Linked DNA regions of Homo sapiens: region 2 is linked to region 1. The links are contacts of gene promoters, found by promoter capture Hi-C in human tissues and cell types (Jung and others, 2019). All regions are on one chromosome and are shown on one strand. The core of a region is centred on a gene start or on the middle of the fragment in contact, and the rest is flanking DNA. Distances in the headings are between cores, read along the strand shown.

Evidence for each region. The method cuts DNA at HindIII sites, captures the fragments that hold promoters and counts their contacts. A contact is called where the count stands out against the background at its distance.
Region 2: a fragment that was not itself captured here is called in contact with the fragment with the promoter of NKX2-8 in region 1 in 2 of the 25 tissues and cell types used here (mesendoderm cells and thymus).

Annotation. Positions count from the first base shown.
Region 1 is chr14:36,579,065-36,586,821 of GRCh38, reverse strand. It overlaps NKX2-8 (NK2 homeobox 8), which reads left to right and starts at 4,208. Exons shown (of 2, transcript NM_014360.4): 1 at 4,208-4,589; 2 at 5,358-6,818. The coding sequence starts at 4,433. The coding sequence ends at 5,920. RefSeq lists enhancers at 4,817-5,627, 5,628-6,438. The HindIII fragment of the contact is 13,278 bases long and covers 1,193-7,757 here.
Region 2 is chr14:36,416,417-36,424,173 of GRCh38, reverse strand. No RefSeq gene overlaps it. Among named protein-coding and RNA genes, the nearest start is that of NKX2-1-AS1, 99 kb to the left of the region's middle. The HindIII fragment of the contact is 4,158 bases long and covers 1,284-5,441 here.

The DNA of each region.
Region 1 (7,757 bases), core at 2,959-5,458:
AAATAAGTTTATTTTTCAATTAATTGAACCATTTTACTTCTATATATTTTTTCATGTACATACTTAAATAACTAGAGAAACATATTAGGAAAGAAAAGCTTTCCCTCTAGAGATCAAGAACAGTAACAAAGTCAATGTAAAGTCATTATTTTAAGAGACTGAAGGTAGGATCATTCAAATCTTGTCATTTGGCATTAAACAATAAAATCTAAAGCCATTTCAAAAATAGACTAAATTTCCAGCCTGAAAATAATTGCTGTTTGTTCCTTGTCCTGTGTGTATATATCATCGATATAACTAAGAAAGAATCACAGCCAAGCTTGGACTACTGTGAAGCAATTGATTATTAGCCATTAGAAGGGAAATGTTTACTTGTTTTTAGAAAGAAAGGCAAAGAGATCTGATTTTAAATGATGCCTATTCCTTACATCCTATGACCAATCAAGATCATCCACTTCTTCTTGGAAGTGTCAGAACCCCATTTTCATTTTCCTTTTGCTATTTTAACCACAACAGTGATAAAGAGGGGGGAGCAGTTGCTATGAGGCAAAGAAAAATGTCCTGGCAGTTGAGGGCCCTCCATCTATCAAGGGGAATTTGCAGTGTTGCCTCTCTTCAATACTGTATAGATTTGCAGGATTTTGTGAAACACTTAACCAAAATGGAAGGATTTAAAAACGGAATGCAAGATATAGACACAATCATTTTTTTCAAAATCAAGATGCTTTAGTTTTATTTCAGAATTTTCTAGTCTTAAAATCTTAAGCACGTGGTAGTGATAATCATCTCTGGATAATACTTCTGAAAGGATGATTATTGTGGACAGCTTAAATATACTCATATATTACAGGTGCCTAAACATTAAAAACTCTTACTGGAATTGAGATATACTACATCCAATTACAAGAAAACAACTACTTAGCTAATTAAATAATAATATTCACATGGTATGTTAAGTTGCAAAGAAGTTCAATTGTCCAGAACACCAAATAATATATGAAAATCTGGAAATAATGTCCAGTTAAATGCTTACTTGTGATTCTAAGAATCTCTTGGGAATTGGAGGCAATTCGTATATATCTCCAATGTGTAAAAAACTTAAGATTAGCTTGACTGTCTTTTCCTATTGACCCAATATCAAAATAATTTTCCCCTCCCATGTCTGTGAATTTATCTGATGTGAAAAGGCAATATAGAAAGTACCTTTCTCTAATTCTGGCTTTCCTGCATTTCTTCAGAAGGCACAGTTTATATTGAACAATTTCTTGGAGTCCCCCGGTTCTAGCTCTCAGAGATAATTCAGCTAAATCCGCGGAGCAGAGCTGAGAGGAAGGTTGGCCTATGGCAGAGGCACTTATGGCAGAGGAGGAGGGAATCCAAGATGAAGCAGGTAAGCTGCAGCCCTTTCTAGAACCAGGAGCTACAGGGTTTCCATGGGACATCTAAAATGCAGACCAAGGCCCAGGAACACTGTTTCCGAAGCCCGTGAACATGAAGCTAGAAGTAATATTTGGAGCGAATCCCAGAGCAAAGTCCTTCCCAGAGCACAAGTGCTAGATGGGGCCTGTATCTCTGCTTTGGAAGCCAAACACTAAGAGTAAAAGCAAATATTTGATGCTGAAGAGCTCTTAAGAGCTGAAGAGCGCCATTTACTTATTTCTACACGTCAGTGTGGGCTTAGGATGTTAAATAGATTAAAAGGCTAAGAGAGGTCAGTCACTCAAGGAAAGACTCTTCTTTTGCTTCTCCTGACTTGGTTCTCTTCCCTAAATTGTTATCCACCCCACCCTACTCCTGTGGAGGATCCTTGGGAAACTCAAAAGATGACACCTCCTCTCCTAGAACATCCTGGAGACGGAGTCAGTCCTGGGGCTAAGAATTCGAGAACCTGAGGGAGGAGGGAGTCTAAATATCCGGCTGGTAAATGCTACAATGAAGATAGGTTTAGAAAAATTCCTGAGATACAGAATCATAAAACTGGTAGGGTCCTTAGAAATTACCAAATCTATTCTCCTACTATCTTCTGTATCAGATTAATTTTAAAAAAAAAAAGGAAGGAAGGAAGCTTAGAGAAATGAGGTGGTTAGAGATAGGTAGGGGCAGAGCGAGGATGCGAACCGATTTCCAGGCCAGAGCTCCTTCTACCTTACACAATCTCATAGTTCAAGACCGAATTTGGGAATCAGTCTTAACACTTGCTTCCCCAGGACGGTCTTTGTCAGTGCCTCAGCTTCTCACTAGGGAGGTGGGCTGGCAGAGATTGCCAGGCCTCGGGCTCTGGCCAGAGATAAGTCCACGAGGCCTGGAGCCAGTCTGCGACCTGCCCACTCTCTAGACGCTGGGGGCTCGGGAGCTGAGGAGCGGTGCGCGGCGGGTTTCCAGACTCCGCTGTCCCCTGCCCACTCCAGGCTCCCGCCCCGGCCCCGTCTGCAGAGAGGACAGCCAAGTCATTTCAGTTTAATCTTATTTAAAAAGACATAACTAATAAATCTATTGCCAGGGCCGCGGAAAGACGGCCAGCAGAGTCGATCGTGCTCCCAATCCCATTGAACCCCATTGAAAACCATGACAACACCGGACAAGCTCCGATTTATCCCGGCGCGTTAAAGCGCATTGTGAGCAGACGTCAATCATGCATTATTCCGGACTGAACAAATGCAAAATCTTGACTGGAACAAATGCTTCCAACAGGTCCGGGGCGTCGAGCTCCATTTCCCCTTTGTCCGCGGCCTAGCAGTTGGCCTGTATTGGGGTTGCCTCCGCCCGACCACCCAGCGCGCGGTGCAGCTCCGGGCACCTCGGGCACGCTTGATAGGGAGGCTGCTGGGGAGGGTGCGCGGGGCTTGACAGGGCCGCCGCCGCCGCATCCGAGCCAGGTTCGAGTTCAGCCCGGGAGGAGCCAGGACTTCTGGTGCAGCCACCCAAGTACAGAGCCCTTCGCTACAATTTAGCAACTAAATATCCAAACTACTAGCTTCAGTAGGAGAGGCCTCTGAGAGGGCGTTCCTCTGTAGATTGAAGCGCGGCCAGAGCTAGGCCATGGCCCAACAAAATGTATCCACGGCGGCCTGTTCCCTGCGCCTCCTACATTGATCATTTTCTAGGGTGGAACTGTGGAAACTAGAAGATCCCAGAGAAACCCATGGCCGGTGGTATTTTCTGCCGGGTAGGCCCTGTCCTAATTCTCCCGATCGGTCCATTCCCGGACCAAGGCGGGCAGCCTCGTCAGGGTCTGCCATGCTGCGAGCGGGGAGCGTAGGCCATGGGCAGGCTCCTGGGCAAAGACCAAAGCCCAGGCAGTGAGAGTGCCGTTGAGGCTATGGGGCCAAGGCGCACAGGCGGCACCAGTTCATCTGGCGACTCCAAGGAGGCCTCAAAGCCCTCACAGGATGCCCTGAGAAGCGCCCCCGCCCAGGGGCTCTAAAGCGGGCCTGGACCCAAATTTGTGGAGCTCGGCCTCCGAGCTCCGAGATCGGCAGCGGCCGGGCGAAGCTGGGCCAAAGAGACAGGCACTGTAGACCTAAGTAGCTTGGCTACAAGCCTCTTCTGTTTTGCCGGCCTGTGGAGACGTGGAGCTGGGGCTCCGAATGTTGTCCCAGCCCTTCCTCAGCACCTCTGAGGCTGTTAGGGGGATGTATGGTGTGATCCGAGGCTCCCAGCGGCCGTTGAAACCCCTGGGCCAATGCTGGCAGGGCCAGGCTAATCTTTACGCCCTCCTGAAACTTGTCATCCTGAATCTTAGAGGGGCCCAACCAAAAAGAGAAAGGGAGCGCGCCAGAGTTTAACGCCGCTTTGTAAATCACTTTCTGGATAATTGCGGGAAACTACCACTCCAGCAAACAAGCTCGAAGAATAAAGCAAACAGGGAATAAATTCCTGGGTGCTAATAAACCCACCCCTGCCACCCCCACCCTTCCCGGCGCTCCCGCGGGGCCTGGCCTCAAGTCAGCCCAGGAGGAGGAGGAGGAAGCTGGGGCTGGGTCAGGCGGGTGGTGGCCACCGCTCGCCACCCAAGATGTTATTCACTGGTAACAATCCCCATTATCTGTCCCCACTTTGGGCTAATCAGACAGAATCGCTAATGCCAAATGCTGCTTCCTGCAGCCTCTGGGAGGTAACTGGGCGCCAAGGGGCGGGGTGCGGGGCGGGGTGCGGGGCGGGGCGGGGGCGGAGGTGGCACCTTCCGGGCTCGCCCCGGCTCTGGTCCAGTGCTCATTCAGGTACTTAACACCCTGGAGACCCGGACCTCGGCTTTCAAAGCGGCCTGGGTGGGAAGAGCTGTTTATATAAACAGAGATTCCGCTGTAAATGCGCTAATATCCCGGCTGCCAGCGCATGGCGAGCGCCTCCCACGCCCATCCGTAGGAGCGGCGTCCCGGCCGCCCCTCCGTTCCCAGCCTGCCCTGCCCCCGCCTCCTTCCCCTCCTCGGCCATGGCCACCTCTGGACGCCTGAGCTTCACCGTGCGCAGCCTTCTAGATTTACCCGAGCAGGACGCGCAACACCTGCCGAGGCGGGAGCCAGAACCACGCGCCCCCCAGCCCGACCCCTGCGCCGCCTGGCTGGATTCGGAGCGCGGCCACTACCCTTGTAAGTGCGTGGTGGATTGCGGTGCGGGGTGGGAGGTAGGAGGCGTGGGGCAGCAGAATCAAGGGCCCAGCCCACGAGGGGCCGGAAAGCCGAAATCCCAGCCCAGAGTCTAGATTTCCTCAGTCTTGGAAACGGGAGCCCTGTCCTCGAACCCCTAACGCATTCATCCCGGTCGGCACATCCTAAGAGCAGATCCCTGCCTGGCACTGGTGCTCCGAGATTTGGGGTTTCTGTGTCTGACGATTTCTAGAGGTCGGAATAATTGAAATTTAAAACGCGCCGCCACCTGCCGCCCCCACCCCACCCCCCGCCCCCTCTCCATGCCTGAAAACACGGCCACGATCTCCAGGCCTCCGTCTGGGATGGCCAGTGTTGGCGAGTTTACCCCCACCCCGTTCCCACTCAGGGCTCCGCAAACCTCGGCACACTGCAGTGCAGTCGACCTGGAGGAGGCCGGCGCTGGTGACCCAGCTTGTGATAAACTGGTCGGCCAGCGCAACTACCGGTGCGGACATGTTAAGAGGGCCCCGGGGTGGGTTTTTTCGGGGCACGATCTCAGGCCCGCTGATGACCGCTGTGGTATGAATGAGGTCACCGCATTCGGAGAGGTGGATGTCCAGATGTGGACTCAGGAAATGGCCTCATCCCGAAAGTCTCGGGCTAGTGGGCGTGCCCTCTGGCCAGTGCCTCCACGCCCGCGCCAGAAGGGCAGCAGGCCCTCGTAGGGTCCGGCGTCTCACCCACCCGTGTCTCCTTTGCTGTCCCTAGCCTCGGACGAGAGCAGCCTGGAGACCAGCCCGCCAGACTCGTCGCAGCGGCCGTCCGCTAGGCCCGCGTCTCCGGGCTCGGACGCCGAGAAAAGGAAGAAGCGGCGGGTGCTATTCTCCAAGGCGCAGACGCTGGAGTTGGAGCGGCGCTTCCGGCAGCAGCGGTACCTGTCTGCGCCCGAGCGCGAGCAGCTGGCGAGCCTGCTTCGCCTCACGCCCACGCAGGTCAAGATCTGGTTCCAGAATCATCGCTACAAGCTGAAGCGCGCTCGCGCTCCAGGGGCGGCGGAGTCGCCTGACCTGGCAGCATCCGCCGAGCTGCACGCCGCGCCCGGCCTGCTGCGTCGCGTGGTGGTGCCGGTGCTTGTTCGCGACGGGCAGCCGTGCGGCGGCGGCGGCGGTGGCGAGGTGGGAACCGCCGCGGCCCAGGAGAAGTGCGGCGCCCCTCCAGCCGCCGCCTGCCCTCTGCCGGGCTACCCTGCCTTCGGTCCCGGCTCGGCGCTTGGCCTCTTCCCCGCCTACCAGCACTTAGCATCCCCCGCCCTGGTCTCCTGGAACTGGTGAGGCCGCAGGGCGGCACCTGGGGCTACCCTCGACTTTGGAGCGCGCTCTGCGATTGGAGCAGGGCCGGAGCCGAACGCCTGGAACGCTCTCCGTCCGCCTCCCTGCAGCCCCATCTCCTTGGGCGCCAGGGTCCCTGGCGCGCCCTCATCAGCCGTCGCGCAAGCACACACGAGGGACGTGTGCCAGAGCCCCCTCCCTCACCTTCCCTCCACCGCCAGCCCCAGAGTTAGATTTTATGCTTGGGCCTTATTTGTATATTTTTAAATAGCGATTTGTATAGGAAGCAAGTTATTTTTTTAAAAAATAGAGTATTTTTCCTCGTAGTTCGAGAATAAAATGTGTGGGGTTGGGTCCCCTGCGCGCCTGCGGGGAACGTAGGCGGGAGTCGTGCCCCCCAGACCGGTGTTCGCATCGCTGGCTCGCCCCTTGACTGGCTAAGTGGGGCCCGGCCCCAGCTGGATCGAAGGGCGGGTTGCAGTCCCGACACGGCTTTAGGAAGATACCTGGGGGATGGAGGGGTGGTGATGTCAGGGTTGGGCGCGGGAAGAAAAGGAGAGGAGGAAGCTGAGGCAACTTTGGGATTCTTGTCAGCGGGAGGCGTCACTGGCCCCAGAGTGACTCCGACTCTCCGCTGGGCTCCCAGAGCTGCTGGCGTTTCGAATACCGAAAAGTCAACCCTGTGGACCACGACAGGGCAGAAGGAGTTTCTCCGGAGATGAGCCGGCGAGGCCAGGTGCGGGGCGCGCTGCACCGGAGCAGCCCAGGCCGGGCCGCAAGCTGTTTCCAGAGTGCAGGAGCCAAGTGCTCGGGGACCCTTTGAAAAGTGCCTGGGGACCTGAAGAGCACCGGGGAATTTGTAACCCCTATTTAAGCCTGCAAGTGCCTAAGTTAGCTGTGATTTCCTGTCTCCTCATGGCGCAGTACCTGGCCAGGGTGGGGAGGAGGACGTGAAGACATCAAAGGGTCGGGGGAACGACCGGCACAGGGCTTTTCCTCTGGGCAGATCCGGGAGGACGCGACTCCCAGCTGAGGGAGGGCCGCCTGGGGGAGCCTTGGGAATCCGAGATTGGGGCAGGTCCACCCCGGCCAGTGCACACTAGCACCCCTTGGATTTGTAACTGCCCCGCTAGGGCCTCTTGTGCAAGCAGTCACTTTCTCACAGAAGCGACGACCTCGCTCCCAGGCACCCGCTGCTGGGAGATGCGCCAGAGGAGAGCAGTTGGGGCATCAGGTGCGGGGAAGGGAGCCAAGGGCCCTTATGGAGGTCTCTAAGGAGGAGTCATGGGCCTGTTAGGGGCTCTAGCTTTCTTGTCCAAGGAGGAAGAAGGGGAGGATGAAGGGTGGCTGAGGCAGTGTTATCACCTGGGATTTTGGGGGGTGGAGAGAGAAAGAGAGAAGGGGAGAGGGGGAAGGGAGTGGGGTGTTTGGGTCTCAGCTGCCGGCCACCTTGCCTTCCATATGGATGCGGTTATCTTAGAAGAATCTCGATCCTTAAACCTCTTTTTGTCTTGGGAACTGAAAAGGGCATTGTCAGGCCTGAAAAGGACCTAGACAAAATCCGCACTGTTTGGATTCAGGACTCTGTTTAATCAGTCCCTGGTGACAATGTAGTGGGTGTTAGGCAGGACAATAGTATCTTTTTAAACCTTGTGGCCTTCAGGAAGACAAAGGGCTTGAATTTTATGGGCTTACAACTTCAATTAGAACAGTGCCAGTGTGCATGGGAGATTATCAAATTTGTATCATAAAACCCCTTTCTAATAAATGATTGCTGGGGAGGGAGCTTGAACATTGTAAGACAGATATTGGGACCTGCCAGGGGGCTTCCCAGTTAGCT
Region 2 (7,757 bases), core at 2,113-4,612, 160 kb after region 1:
TCCTAAGCTTAAAACAAATGGTCTTTTTAATCCAGGTGCAAATAACCTGCTTTGTCTTTTAAAAAGTTTTTGTAAACCTGGCCTCTGATCAGTCAAATAAAAAGCATGCAATTGTAAAACTATGATGAGAGTGAAGGTGGGTGATGTGGCTGATGTTGCAGAGCTTTTAGTTTGCCTGTCTTGCTTAAACAACAGATACCAATAACAACATACTTTCTGTTACACTCTTCACAGTGAAAGGAACAGGCTTGGTGTTTGATGAGCCCCTCACTTTGAGTGACCAAACTAAAGGCTCAGTTAAAAAAAATAAAGATCCCTGGGAGAGCATATACGAATTAATTTCACCAGCTTTAAATATGAAAAAAAAAAACCTCACATCCATTCCTCCTCTTTGACTCGCTGCCTCTAATCAAGAATGTCGTGGCCTTCTGAGAAAGGATTCTCCTGGGAAAGTCAGTTCGATATCATCCCCGGCTTTTGTCTGAAGCTATTATTGTGCCTGTTTCCATGAGGCTGACCCTGGTAAGAGGACACATATGGATGTGATAGTAATGTTCTCTGGTCCCTGGCCGAGCCTATTAGAGTTCCCAACAGGGGGTCCCACCACTCTTTTTAATAGTCATTTCTACTTCACAAGTGCAGTTGTTTATGGACAGGGGAGATAATTTGACCCACTGTGGTGCTGTACAAAAGAGTGACAATAGGGCAAAGGTCATATGTTTAAAGAAGTTTGAGACTGTGGCCTGCTAGGAGAGGCTCTCCCTAGAAAAGGACAATATTAAAATGTCATTTGTGAACTTAGAATAGGGCCTGGGAGGTCACAAGTGAAGACTTATATAACCATTGACATAAATACACTATTTTAGTGTTGGTAGATAAAAATAATTTGGAAGTAAAGAAGGGGTATGAAAAGTAGTTTCATAACTAGTATAGGAAAAAACACTTGGGGATCACACAGCATTAAAGGCCCACTGGCTACTTTAAATACTAGCACCACTATTTATTAAGTGTGTGGCGGTGGGCAAGATATTTTACCTCCTAAAATCTGGATAAAAGCCCTGTCTCACAGGATTCTGTTGTGAAGATTAAATAAGGGAATGCATGAAAGTACTGACATACAGTAAGTGCTCAATATATGATAGTTTGATGTATTGAAATATAGATGATAGATAAATGATAGAGATATATAAACTGTACCATCAGGTACTGCTTAATAACAGGAATATGTTCTAAAAAATGCATTGTTATGCGATTTCTTCATCATGTGAACATTGTAGAGTGCACTTACACAAACTTAGATGGTGTAGCTTACTACACACCGAGGCTCTATGGTGTAGCCTATTGCTGCTCAGCTATAAAACTGTAGAGCACGTTACTACACTGAATACTCTGGGCAATTATAACACAATGGTTAAGTATTTGTGTATCTAAACACGGAAAAAAGGAATGCATTGCACTACAATGTTACAACAGCTATGATATCACTAGGTGATAGGAATTTTTCAGCTCCATTATGAGACCACCATTGTATATGCATTCCATTGCTATGAAGCATATGACTGAATACATATTTGGAGAGAGACAGAGAAAGAGAGGTCGCCGTTTTCTCTGCTTTAGAATTGTGAACTCCCTGCTCTGTAGATACTTCTGTCCATGGAAAGATGCCTTTTAATGCCAAGTCTACACGTTCCTTTCACCCAAACCAACCATGCATCATCTCCATTTCCCCCCTACTTTGGCCCTCTCTTGCCTTCTATCTGCACCTTTGCAGAAATGGTATATGCTAATTGAGAGTATGATTCAGAGCCACATCAGGATTCCAACTTCCCTACTCGTTAGCTTTGTGACCTTGAGCAAGCAGTTTCACCAATCTGTGCCCCAGCGTTATTCCTTGTAAAATGGGGATTAAAGAATAGTACCTACTGCGTGGGGTTGTTCTGAAGATTAAATGAGCTAAACTATGTGAAATGCCAAGAGTAGAACCTGGTGCATAGTATTAAGTATTACGTATCATTATTATTGCTACTATTATGACAGCACCCCCACCTCTCTTGTCTCTATATTCAAATCCTCAGTTGCCTGCCTGAAAGAGGGTGTTAACGCATACTGAGCCCAAATCACACACCAGGCACTTTTTATACATTGCTAAGACCTAAAATGTGAATTTTATCCCCACTTGATAAACGAAGTGAAGGCTCAGTGAGATTAAATAATTTGTCCAAATTATAAAGATTCTGTTATGCAAGATGAATAAGTTCTAGAGATCTGTTACATAATATAGTACCTATAGTTAACAACACAATATTGTGCACTTTAAAATATGTTAAGAGGATAAATCTCATGTTAAGTGTTCTTACCAAACAAGCAAACAAAACCACACACACACACACACACACACACACACACAGAAGTTACACAAGGAAATTTTTCAAAGTGATGGACATGTTTAATACTTTGGTTGTGGTGATGGTATCACAGGTGTATGCATTTGTCCAAACTCATTAAGATGTATGCATTAAATGCATGCAGTTTTGGTATATCAACTGTACCTCAAAAAAGCTTTAAAAAAGAGAAAAATATATACTCTAAAATATAAATAAATAATTTGTCCCAGAATACAGGGCAAATAAGTGCAGAGCCAACATTCAAACCCAGGTTTGACTGATCCCCAAGCCCGTACTCTTTTCACTGCATTTGTGCTTCACAAGTCCAGGGCAAAATATCCACAGCTGTGGAAAAGAAAGGGACAGGGGTCCCTCTAGCAGAACCTCATTTTGATATGGTGAAAAGAGCAGTTGGCTCTGACTCTCACACATTTTGAATTTAGTTTAGTCATCTGTAAAAACTGAGGTGCTAGACTGAAGGCTTCCAAACCATGATCACCCAAGACTTTGGGCTTCTTCAAGGTTGCTCAGGGGCCACTGCAGAAGGAAGACCCAGCAGGAAGATCCCAGACCCTCAGTGAGATGCTCATCCCACCTGAATCGAGTAAGTACTGGGGCTCTGGATAAGATGTTTGACAATATCAAGATCCCTTTCATCTCTAATATTCTGAGGATCTTTTTCAAATTATAGGATGAAAACATGACCACAATCTATACTGAAATAACTTTCAATTTAACAAATATTTCTCTGGTTCTATTACATGCAAAACACCATGTTGACTTGAATAAAAAACCTTCCTTTTCTCCCAAAAATTGTCTTATAAGAATTTCTTCCTCCTCGCTGAGTGTACTCTCAAGATGCATTTCTCTCAGGAAGTGTGTTTTCAGTGTACTTAAAAGCCAGAATGTGAAATGTTCCCTTAAAGCTCTCAACCTTTGTACTGCAGACCCCCATTTCCCTGAAGAGTATTTTTATCCCTTCCATATCTCCATGTCTTATCTGTGTACTTTATCTTGTGACCACAGCTCTGTGTCCTAGAGAGTCTAACACATTGGCCATTTTTCAAGAAATAATATTAAGGTGAACAGCCACGGCTGGGTAGATGGCAGACTCTAAGCATTTCCAATATTTTCTCTGTTTGCAGTGTGGGCACCAGTCTTCGGGGCTCCCTCCCCAAATTAGTCCAAGAAGTTTATTCTAGGAGAAGGCATCACTTGCTAATTGAATTAACCTCCCTCTTTGTGTTTTGATTCAATGGAGATTACCTCAGGGAATTCAGCGGCTCCTCTGTAACTTGGTTCCTGGGACAAAGATTCTTCCCTCAGAGACTATTTCCTTCCCCGATTCTTATTTCTTGGAAGAGGGATCAGGAAGGAATGTGGATTCCAGAGAATATTGCAGGGCGGAGGATAGAATGCAAATGAAGGGTTGTCCTTCCAGTTATCCCACAGGACAGTGAGGGAGGGTTCATCTACTCTCAGGAAAACTCTGTAAGAAGGTCATGGTGTTTGGGAATCCTATGTTGCAATAGTACTCAGGTTTAAGAAAATCCTAGAGACTGATCTTAAAATGGTTGAAGAATGTAAAGATTCTGAGAACCCAATATTCCCAGAATATCTGTGAACAAACACTTCTGTTTATAAGAAAAAATGGGCAAGCTTGATTGGCTATCCCAGGTGTGTGTGTGTGTGTGTGTGTGTGCACTCAAGTGTATGCAATTTTGTGGGAGACCATTTCAGCTTCACCATCTAAGTCAGTGGCTCACAACTCCAGCAGTATGCAGATGACATACACATAGATATATTTAGGCTCCATCCTTGGAGATTCAGATTTTGGCAAGGGTCCAGCATCATTTATCTTTGAAAAGCTCCCCAGGAGATAAGGATGCCCTACCAGGGCTGAGAATCACTAGTCTAAGCAAAAACAGGCACTGGAGGCCCTCATCATTACATCTTTGGCTCCACTTGTGCTTTTTTGCCCTGCTGAGTGTCAATCAGCTGCATGCTACAGTGTGGTGACAAGACTACACATGGGTTGATTGCATATATGGAAGATAGTCGCTGCTTTCTTGGATCTGTAAATTTACTGCTTGGGGCTTATTTTTAAAATAGTGTTATTTTTTACCAAAATACGGCCAACTCTAGCAAAAGTAGAACCCTCTTAATTAATGCAATTGACCTTTTTGTGAGGTCATTTATCCCCTCTGGATAAACATCCTATTTCAGCAGGGATAGAGTACTAGCAGTCATGTTTAGCAAACTTCAGGCCCTATAAAAACATTTTATTTGGCATAATGGATGACCCTGAGCAGCCACAATCTCAATGTTGTTTTTTTTTTCTACCTTATTTCTTGAGGCAAGAGACCAATAGATTGCATCAATTTTTTTTAACTTGAAAAGTTGATGCCTACTATAATACACCAGAAAGCTTAATCCTTGGTTTGGTCCCAAATCAGCAAACACTTGCTTTAGTGTAAGATGGACAACTGTGCTCCTGGGCTACAAAGACACCCCCTGAGCTAGTGCCCTTTCTACCCTCATACACATATAGTCTCTTTCCTCTTCAACCCATTGGACACAGTTATTAGAATTGGCTTCTTTAGACCCCTTTGCATGATGTCACTTCTCTCTCAAGAACTTCCATAGGCTTCCTAGTGTCAATCATTTGAAATCTAAACTCATTTAGCCAGGCCAACCTTCTAACCTCCACAGTGACTGATACTTTTATTGTTTCTCAATGTAGACTTCTCCCCTACCCTAACCAGGCCAGCATTATGCAGGGTTCATACTGGGTGATAGCCACCTTGCCTAGAACTTGATGTCTTTCCCACTTCTGTCTTGAACTTGGCCAGCCAAGCTAGAAGTGTATTTCCAGAGCCCATTTTGCCACCATCCCAGAAACAGCTGCTCTGTGCCATGGCAGGATGAGCCTCCTCACTCCCCTCATTTGACCTTGGCAATGTCCATTTTGACCCCCAAGGAATCCCCTGCTCCCATAAGAATCACCCTCTAAAGCAGCACCCAAAATTCATGCCTTCAAGAAACCTTCCTTGATTGACTTCATTGTACTTTGCAGGTATGGACTAGACTGCCTGTACTGTTCTCATTAACTTTACATGACCATAGATTGTCATCTGTGCTCTATTCCACATCACTAGCTAGATTGTAAATTCTACAGCGCAAGCATTTTTTATTATGCTGTTTCTATATCCCTTTATAGTTAGATGAAAATAAACTGAAATAGCCGATGCTCTTGTGAGGGAAGTGTCCTGCAGCCAGAACTGGGATGAGGCCCCATCAGCTTTTGGATGCTCCTGGCTGTGAGAATGTAGGAGTCCTGTACCCTGAGGTGAGGTGAGTCCTGCTCTGAGGTGAGGCAGAGAGAGTCAGACAGGGCATACCAGCCAGTGGATCTGACAGTAAGAAAGCCTTCAGTAGCACAGCTCTAGCTGTTCCCCTACATGGACCTCACCTCCAAGTGGAGACTCCCATCCACTCCCTCCCTTCCCCTGCTTCCTTACAGCCTCCTGTAACTTGTGAAATATACTTCCCATACCTGGAGGGAGAAAGAAAAGGGGATTGCTTTTTGTTATACCCAGGGGCATACAATAAAGTGGGCCTCAGACTTTGTGTCCAAGCTCATTTGACTTGTCATATTTCTGAATCTGAAGCTAAAGGATTCAAGCTTCTCTGATTCAACAAGGGTTTTACAATAGCTTTTCACATATCAGACGTCCTGATAAGTCCCAACCCAAAACTTGTCTTGGTTGGCTTGGGTACCCTGTTCACACCAGTGAATTTTTAATCCTCAGTCATGTCTCATTCAGTCAGTCAGGTAAACTGAGAGGCTGTGGATTTTTAAGAAAAGCATCAGTAGCTTTCAGGTAGCAAAATATCTTTAATCTGAACAATTCTCAACCTTGGCATCCTTTTTCCACTCATCCCCTTTTTCTTTTTTTTAAATTATACTTTAAGTTCTAGGGTACATGTGCACAACTTGCAGGTTTGTTACATAGGTATACATGTGCCATGTTGGTTTGCTGCACCCATCATTAGGTATTTCTCCTAATGTTGTCCCTCCTCCAGTCCCCACCCCACAACAGGCCCTGGTGTGTAATGTTCCCCACCCTGTGTCCAAGTGTTCTGATCGTACAATTCCCACCCACGAGTGAAAACATGAGGTGTTTGGTTTTCTGTCCTTGTGATAGTTTGCTGAGAATGATGGTTTCCAGCTTCATCCATGTCCCTGCAAAGGACATGAACTCATCCTTTTTTATGGCTGCATAGTATTCCATAGTGTATATGTGCCACATTTTCTTAATCCATTCTATCATTGATGGATATTTGAGTTGGTTCCAAGTCTTTGCTATTGTGAATAGTGCCACAATAAACATACATGTGCATGTGTCTTTATAGCAGCATGATTTATAATCCTTTGGGTATATACCCAGTAATGGGATGGCTGGGTCAAATGGTATTTCTAGTTCTAGATCCCTGAGGAATCACCACACTGTCTTCCACAATGGTTGAACTAATTTACACTTCCACCAACCGTGCAAAAGCGTTCCTATTTCTCCACATCCTCTCCAGCATCTGGTGTTTCCTGACTTTTTAATGATTGCCATTCTAACTGGCGTGAGATGGTATCTCATTGTGGTTTTGATTTGCATTTCTCTGATGATCAGTGATGATGAGCATTTTTTCATGTGTCTTTTGGCTGCATAAATGTCTTCTTTTGAGAAGTGTCTGTTCATACACTTTGCCCACTTTTTGATGTGGTTGTTTGTTTTTTTCTTGAAAATTTGTTTAAGTTCTTTGTAGATTCTGGATATTAGCCCTTTGTCAGATGGGAAGATTGCAAAATTTTTCTCCCATTCTGTAAGTTGTCTGTTCACTCTCATGGTAGTTTCTTTTGCCGTGCAGAAGCTCTTTAGTTTAATTAGATCCCATTTGTCTATTTTGGCTTTTGTTGCCATTGCTTTTGGTGTTTTATTCATGAAGTCCTTGCCCATGCCTATGTGCTGAATGGTGTTGCCTAGGTTTTCTTCTAGTGTTTTTATGGTTTTAGGTCTAAATTTAAGTCTTTAATCCATTTTGAATTAATTTTTGTATAAGATGTAAGGAAGGGATCCAGTTTCAGCTTTCTACATATGGCTAGCCAGTTTTCCCAGCATCATTTATTAAATAGGGAATCCTTTCTGCATTTCTTCTTTTTGTCAGGATTGTCAAAGATCAGATGGTTGTAGATGTGTGGTGTTATTTCTGAGGCCTCTGTACTATTCCATTGGTCTATATATCTGTTTTGGTACCAGTACCATGCTGTTTTGATTACTGTAGCCTTGTAGTATAGTTTGAAGTCAGGTAGCATGATGC